2 separate regions of the Homo sapiens genome follow, and region 1 is linked to region 2. The links are contacts of gene promoters, found by promoter capture Hi-C in blood cells and fetal thymus (Javierre and others, 2016). All regions are on one chromosome and are shown on one strand. The core of a region is centred on a gene start or on the middle of the fragment in contact, and the rest is flanking DNA. Distances in the headings are between cores, read along the strand shown.

Region 1 (4,174 bases), core at 109-2,608, 52 kb before region 2:
AGGCTTTATAGATAGAGCTTCTATCTGATTTTATAGGTCTTAGTGGCTTCTTCCTATGGCAAGCCAGAGGTGATTATGATTTAGGAAGGAATACGTAGGTGGTCCAGGCACTGAAAACATGGAGAACAGCTGCACTGCAGGTATCATTCCTCCTCAGGCTCACAGAATGAAATCATTCCTGACAATGTTCTTTCAAGTTGTGTTCTTCAATTTCAGTTTTATCCTTTCCAAAAATGGGGTCCATGTGAGTTTTCTTCAATTCGCTTTTAAAGAATTGTACTCTTTAAAAATCTTAATAGTTTGTTTTACCATTTAACATGAAAAAGCTTGATAATTTGTTTCAACTAGTTTTCCACGACTAATTATTTCCAGAGTATAACAGATCCCTTGATAGTCAAATTAATGATTAGGTTTTGGTCACATTTTTTGCCTTCCCTGCTTTTCCTGCTTTTGTTATTAATAACAACAGCAAAACTTACATAAGTGCAACAAGCACTGTTAACCATTTTATGTATAGAATTAATTAAACTCATTTGTTAAAATGCAGAATGTGTGGCACTGATTGAATTTTGAACCAATAATTTCTAACATCAGGTGGATAATAAAGTTTATTTTTATGCATCCTTCAGTCCCTTCATTCCCTAATTATATTTACCTAAAGATGTTTATGTGCCTTTAAAACTAATGTGTCTGCTGTTTTAGTTTGACTTTTCAATTTTTAAAAAACCAATCCCCCTTTATTTGTATAATTTAGGACCCTTTGTGAATCCCAGTCTCAGCTTATCAGCCTTTACAATTTGATCTGTTAAATAATTTATATGCTCCTGAATGTTTAGCATTTTTTAATGATTTTAATTAAAATTCCAAAAGTAATGGGTAAGAAAAGCAAGGAATGTGGTCATATCTTAATTACATAGATGTCAAGGTATCCTTAAGTGAGTTTTTGTTTGTGTGTTTAAATCATTTCTTAGGCTCAGTAGAAAAGAAGCAACAGAGAAGATCAATTAGAACTCGTTCTGAATCAGAGAAATCCACTGAGGTTGTGCCAAAGAAGAAGATCAAAAAGGAGCAGGTTGGCTTCCTACATGTAGAGAGTTAAAACATTGTATTTGTAAATGTTGTGGCTTACATTCCTGTCTTAAAAGAAAGAGAAACTTTCCCCCACACTGAGTTTCCTTTCTGGACTATCTTAACGCTTCTGTCCTGGTGGGTTCCAGTGCTCAGTTTTAATACAGCCATCCCTGTGATTCTGCTTCAAGCATTTTCACAGAAAACAGGTTTCAGGAGATGGGAAGCCAGTGGTGCAAGACTTAAAAAATCCTTCACATTTATTTAGAAGTTTCTGTTATCAGCAGAATGATTTCATGTTTTTATGATTTTTATTTGGAACCATCATTGAGTTCCTTTTTTTTTTTTTAAGTTTGATTTTTGGTTTAAGCTGCTGGTATATATTGTTTTTTATTTTTTAAACAAATCAATTTAATTTATATTCTTATATTTAAGAAGCAGATATTCATAGATGATCTGTTTTTTCTGTTAATATCGCAGATTTTTTGGAATGTTATTTTCCCAGTGGAATATTCACCTGATATCAGGTTGTCAGATAAATAATATTTAGGTAAAAAAAGGTGTGTGGGGGGGTTGCATTTTGACTGAAGTGTATTAAACCAGTGTAATCAATGTAGTAAGATACATTTAAATCAACTTTTCAAATAAAATTTTAGAAGCCATTCTTCTTTAAATTAAACTCACAATCAGATTTTTTCTTAATTTTTTTGTTAAAGAATATCCATTCTTACAGCCTAAACACCTGCTAGCAAACAAAACAAATTCTGAATAGAATTAGTTCCAATAAGTTTTATATTTTTTAAACCATTTATATGGAAGAATGTGAGCTTTTCTATTTAAAATATTTCCTTCATGATTTTAAACTTCCAAATTTAAAAGCTAACTTTGTGGGTGCTCTGTGGTATCACCAAGCAAGTGAAACAGTTTTTCCAGAATATTTAACTAAAATTTAAATAGTATACTAATTTGTCATTCATTTATCATATTAACTTTCATATTTCATACTTAGGAAATTATATTCCAAAAAATCTTTCTAAGCTCTTGAAAATCTATAGTTATTCATTACCAAAATGAAGTTGTGATTTTGCCAGCTGGTTCCCAAAATCAGTCTGTGACCAGTCAGTTTTAAACTAATAAGCAGAATGAGTATAAAAAGTGGGACAAATTGTTAATGCCACTGTGTTATAGTTAGTAGTAGAACAATACCAGTGATTGTTTAGAAGATTTTATATTTGTATTACTAATTGTATCTTATAAAAGCGTTTCTGTTGTATGTTTTTTTACCTGTTGTAAAAAAAATAAAATTTTTTTTAAAAAGCTTAGAACAATCCTTAAATATTTACAAAATGTGTTTCAACATTCATATTTCACCACATCTTAAAGAAACATGAAATTCAATTTATAGCTTAAACAGGAACTCCTCCAAACAGCCTCCTTTCTCTAATTCCAATGGTTCAATCCTCAAATTACCACGTGTTTTACATATACATTGGCAGAATAACTTCTGATCTCGCTCTCCTAATGTAGGATCAAGACACTGTTCATAAGACACTCAAGAAAGTGCTTTTGCAATATCACAAACTTATTTTCTTAAGTTTGTACTAGCAGCAAAAGTATTGAGCTTCCAGCTGTATGGAGCCCTGTAGCACTCTCTACAGAGAGGGTCCTGATTCCCAGCAACTTAGCTGTGAGTGCAGGCGCGGAAGGGTCTTAAAGTGGCGTGAGTTACATTAACCTGAGTATCATAGTAAGTAAAAATTTATCCTAACGTCTTTGGGGCGGGAGGGGTTTTTAGCAACATTGGGGCCGGTTGCAGAAACAACCCCTCTCCTGCCTTCCAGACACTGAGGAAAGTATTCTTGTTCTCTTCATATACCAAGGGAATGGTGGGAAAAGTCTTTGCTAGAGAGCATGTGGCTGTGTGTTGTCACTTGATATTCAGCACAGGCAGCTAGGATTTAAACCCTCCCTGATCTTGAGACAGAGAACTTTACCCAAAAGATGGGACTGAGTTCAGATTTCAGATACATTAATCACTCATCATTGCTTAGATTGATGAAAGTATCTTTTCCCTCTGTTAATAATTAAAAGGGAAAAAAATTCTTTGTTAATGCTGTATTTTTCTGTCCAAACAGGTTGAAACAGTTCCTCAGGCTACAGTGAAGACTGGATTACAGAAAGGTGAGTTAATATTATAATGTTGCTTTGCATTTCCTTGATTAAAACCAATTTTTAAGAATTATTTGTACTTCATGTATTTTTGTCTGTCTCTGTAAATCGTTGTTGCTCTTCAGTGTGAAATTGCAGTATTCCCCAGTGTTCGTGTGTGTGTGTGACTTTTAGAGTTGATCTTATTCTGTACCTCCACGTGAAAAGTCTTACTTGTTTTGGTAAATTGGAGAACACAACGTAGACTTGATACTGTTTCCAACTTTTCTCCATAAGATTCTGGGGTTTCACTGGCTTATAAACTAGGGATGTGACGAATCCACTTTTTTTGGTATTCGACTGAATACCGAATAGTAGCTATTCATGTTTGTCAAACATGGACTATGACAAATCAGACAAGACAAGCTGATTGAAAAAATCTTGCCACATTTATTTTTACAGTGCTGTAAAATCTTTTTGTAAATTAAAATGATTCATAGCATTTATGGCCACTATTAGATGACCTTATGCGAATCTATTTGAGATATGCACAAAGTTTAAGAAAGCTTAAACTTATATCTGTATTTTCTGTGTGCAATTTGACTACAGTACAAACTCCATAGCATGATTCGTGCGTTTTTGGTGAGATCAAACTGTATTTAATACCTGTAGTTTACTCTGGGCAAATTGCATTATTTAAAAATAAAATAAAACAACAGCCTCTCTGCATTCTCGGGGAGAAGTCTGCAGCGATGGTCTCCGTGGAGATCCTCAGCAGAACTGAACAGCCTCTCGGAGGGAACACTGCTTGGCGGAGCTCCAAGAAAAGACATCGCGATCGCTGCGAGATTAGGAGGCCTGATTGCGTTGTGTTTCCACCATTCCACAGGGTCGGCGGACCGGGGAGTGCAGGGCTCTGTCAGATTCAGTGACAGCTCCGTCTCCGCAGCGATTGAGG
Region 2 (4,249 bases), core at 1,536-4,035:
CCAATAGGTCAAACCCAGACCTACTGTTTGCAAACAGGCCATCTGTAGAGAATACAATCTCTGGACTGCCCAGGACTTGTTGCTTGTCTTTCATTTCATTTTAAATACAAAGCTCTTCCTTTAGCATTCACCTTGAAGTCAAGGTGTTGGCTGCCACATGCCATGTCCTCTTAACAAGATAAGAAAACAGTGGCTATGGAGCCCTCACAGCTGGGAAGCTGACATTCTATACTTCCATATGAGAAAAAGGACATTGGAAAGTTGCTTTATTTCTGGGCAGCGTAGACTAAAGTTACTTTTCACAAGGCTGATGCATCCAGCCTCCCCCAGTTGTCCAAGTTGGTGCAGACATGAATTGATGAATGGAAACACTTTCCTTTGGCCTAGGGCCACCTAGAATTGGTCTCTGGTTATTTGTAAAACAAAAAGTAGAACTTGCTTCCATTTTCAGATGGACTAGGGAATACTATAATTAGACAGCTTTGCAATGAATTAACAAATACTGAAAAGTTGGAAATGTGTATATACTGAAATCTCACCAACTTTTACCTGGGGTGGGGTACCAGGAGAAAGGGAACCCCCTTTCTCCTGGTAAAGGGTAAGGGGGGGGATAATGTTTACCACAGGTACGAAATAGTCACTTTAACATTGAGACCTCTGCCTCATTGAATTCAGGTTTTTTAAGTACTTGAAACTCTTCAGATTCTCCTTATTTTAGTTTCTTTTTACATTTATGAAGTAGAAAGCATTGTTTTGTAAACTGTTTTGAAAATAAATAGCCTAGTCTCTTATCCTCTTTAGCGTGGATTAAAGGTGAAGTTCTGCAAATGGGAGAGTGTTCACAGTAGATAGCTCAGATTGATTGAACACATTTGAGGAAGAGACTCCTGCATGAGATACCAGCATTTTTACAAATACTTTTTATGTACATTCTTTATTTTGTCATTTTGTCAACCCTCTCCCCAAGCACATCTTCTTTCCTTTTACTATGTCTATGTAGGGAAAAAAACAAAACAAAAAATTGCACTTACGTTACACTCCCAAAATGTGGGTAATCCGTGTCTTTCAAAAAACATTTCTGTTTTTTGTTTTGTTTTGGTCAGTCCATTGCATAAGTGACAAGTTTGGGTGCTTGTGGCACGTATGTATGAAGCGGGAGGGGGATGAGAATTGCCTGTCCTTCAGTAGGCTGTAAAAGTAATTTACATGTAAGTAAAAAGGGAAAATAGAATAGATGCCAAAGTCATTTATTCAGTCCTTAGTTTTCTTATGTGGCATTACTGCATCTGCTAGTTAGTGAGAAAGCACCCTCAGCTTTTACTGCTCCCCTCCCTGCCTGCCAACACACTTGATGTGTGCAAACAGCCCTCAAGTATCTGTCAGATGACCTATATAAGGTATTGAATAAGGTATTCTTGTCAGTTTAGAAATGGACTGGATAAAACTTACTTGGTTGTCATTATTTTATCTCATTTGTCCTGTTACATGCCCTATGTTAAGATAATTATATTGCCACTAATAATCAAGATGCTAAATGAGTATTACAACTGGCTAATATCATTTTTTATATACAAGGGTATGTGTATATTTGGAATTGATATGAGAAACTCATTTGTACCCATTTGAGTGATATTGCACAACAAACACAGATACCTACAGACTCCGTTTTCATTTTCTCGTGTTCTTTATGATAATGATCTTTGTAGATTGGTTATTTCTGTACTTTATCTGTAATAAACTTTGTAGATCCTGTGAACCATTACTTTGCCTAAATCACTTGAGACTTGAGTCTTTAATAACAAAGCATCAATATTCACTAAAGTCAATCTCTTTTGAGTTTCTGTGACTTGGCTAGAAGCTCTTGACACTAAGGGATTAGTGTTAATTTTCCCTGGGGGTGTTCCACTAGGGCATTACTGTATAATGACTTGATGTTGCCACATAGACTTCAAGATATATAATATTTTGAGGATTTTGTTGATTGGCCTATGTTTTATTGCATAGTGTGAAACGTGTAAAGCTTGGTTAACCTGTATATAGATAGCTTATTGTTGACTAGTTATAGTGTATTTAGGGTTGCCTGTAATATTTAAGCTTCTTTACTGATGTGTGTGCTGGTAGGAACATATAATTTTTGTACATTATATTTACTGAGATGTTGCCTTTTTTATTTTACAAATACTTTGGAATTCCAATGTGTTTTTTGCTTCCGTGAGGATTAATTTGGAAAGGTTTTTAATGACATTCCACTGATTTCAGATTTTGCTTGAGATTGACTTCAATAAATTGTCCTGTATGTTCCAAATTAAATATGTGGGCTTGTTCTTTGCCAATAATTTTTTGCTACAACACTCTGGGCAGGAGGCCATCCTGGGTGGGAGGACTAAATGACACAATCCAGCCAACCTCAGGTAGTGTAGCTTCCTGCAGAATGCGGCTGTGTTGCTAAGGAACGAGGATCTGAGAGCGGGCTGTTTGGTTTTCCATTTAGAGGCGAGGTCCCGGGAGAAGGCTGCTCCCCGCGGTGGTGTGGTTGGGCCGTGGAGACGAGCTGCTGATGATGGACCGTACGCCGACCTACTCGGCTGGAACTGGGGCGCTGGCTCCCTGCTGAACGCACCAGAGGGCAGCTCCGCTGGCTTTGCGTACCCTTTGCCAGACGATGCCCTCGGCACAGCCGCCAGGCCGTCTTCCTGGGGAGCCGCCGGAGCGCGGGCAACTGGGAGAGGGGGCGGTGCCCAGTTCCCGGCCCGGCCCTCCCCGCGGAGGTGGCCACGTCAGCGCAGCGTCGCTCGGAGCTCGCGGCCGGATGGGGAAGGCGGCGGCGGCGGTGGCCTTTGGGGCCGAAGTGGGCGTGCGGCTCGCGCTGTTCGCGGCCTTCCTGTAAGAAAGATCCACGGCCGGGCCCGGGCGGCCCCGCTTCCCAGGCAGGCGGGCGGCACGGGGCGGCGGGTCGGGCAGTGGGGAAGCGGGGAGGAAGCCAGGCGACCTGCTCTGCGCTTCTTTGTTCCCCTCTAGGGTGACGGAGCTGCTCCCCCCGTTCCAGAGACTCATCCAGCCGGAGGAGATGTGGCTCTACCGGAACCCCTACGTGGAGGCGGAGTATTTCCCCACCAAGCCGATGTTTGTGCGTGGAGAAAGATCGTCTTTCCTCCCTCCCCATGACCCGGCTTCCCGCGGGCACCTGTGCGTTTTCCACCCCGAGACGGCCTTTGTAGGGACCCACTGCCCACTCCGCTGCTGTGCGCTGGGTTCCGCCTCCTAGGGCTCGAGTGTTTAAGATCCTGATTGAGAGAGGAGGGTGTCCGAGCCTCTTTGGGCTGAGACAACGTTTTCCCGGGCGCTCTGTGCCTCAGCCTGAGGTACCGGGGCCCGAGCCGCACGGGCGCTGCTGTTCACTGGTGGCGCTGCCTGGCGCCCGGTTACGCGCACTCAGAGACCTTATGTTAGCTCCAGTGAGTCCTGCTGTGTCACATCCCTCTTTCCTGTAGGAGCACGAGTGTGGCTTTTTTTTGGATTGTTTTTAACCTCTGACATTCTGATTCAGGTTATTGCATTTCTCTCTCCACTGTCTCTGATCTTCCTGGCCAAATTTCTCAAGAAGGCAGACACAAGAGACAGCAGACAAGCCTGCCTGGGTGAGCGCTAGCCCTTTCGGGCCGGTTTCTTCGTGCTGGGAACCTAGGAGGTCGTTGTGGGATTCAGCCACGGTGAGCCTGTGTGGAGGCCACTGAGTTCTGCATTCCTAAAGGAACTCTATCCCCGCGGGAGAGGAAAATAGCACTGCAGGGACTTGGTTACGCAGGCTACACGGCAGGCAGCCCTGTGCCTAAATGCACTGGGTTATTTGTACCTCAGAAATGTCTTTGGCCTAGTACAAAAGTTCTCGGCTACAAAAGAGTGATCACTGAGGACCCTAATTATTTTTGTGCCCAGGCCTGGTTGGATTCTATCCATCTCAGAAACAGCACGGCTGCTCTCATAACGAGGCCATGACCATACCTTTCCTCCTAGACAGATCCTTTCAACTAATGGCTTTGCTTTGCAGCTGCCAGCCTTGCCCTGGCTCTGAATGGCGTCTTTACCAACACAATAAAACTGATCGTAGGGAGGTAAGTGACAACAGCTAACCACCCCAGCATCTGCCTCAGCCCTTACCCACCAGAACAGAGAGGTTAATGGTGTCCACCACACGTCTTTCTCATTCTTTTCTCCTTTATCTTCACTCTGATTTTTCTTTTGTCATTCA

Evidence for each region. Contacts are between HindIII fragments. The CHiCAGO score rates a contact against its expected background, and 5 or more counts as called.
Region 1: a fragment that was not itself captured here is called in contact with the fragment with the promoter of PLPP5 in region 2 in 6 of 17 cell types (total CD8 T cells, total B cells, total CD4 T cells and 3 more); the score reaches 8.3 in total CD8 T cells.

Annotation. Positions count from the first base shown.
Region 1 is chr8:38,317,970-38,322,143 of GRCh38, reverse strand. It overlaps NSD3 (nuclear receptor binding SET domain protein 3), which reads left to right. Exons shown (of 24, transcript NM_023034.2): 8 at 972-1,072; 9 at 3,204-3,249. Among named protein-coding and RNA genes, the nearest start is that of PLPP5, 51 kb to the right of the region's middle. The HindIII fragment of the contact is 2,060 bases long and covers 329-2,388 here.
Region 2 is chr8:38,267,760-38,272,008 of GRCh38, reverse strand. PLPP5 (phospholipid phosphatase 5) reads left to right here and starts at 2,785. Exons shown (of 7, transcript NM_001102559.2): 1 at 2,785-2,883; 2 at 3,019-3,127; 3 at 3,548-3,638; 4 at 4,049-4,112. The coding sequence starts at 2,810. It overlaps NSD3 (nuclear receptor binding SET domain protein 3), which reads left to right. Exons shown (of 24, transcript NM_023034.2): 24 at 1-2,305. It also overlaps a transcript of DDHD2 not described here. RefSeq lists a silencer at 2,587-3,066. The HindIII fragment of the contact is 3,801 bases long and covers 2,097-4,249 here.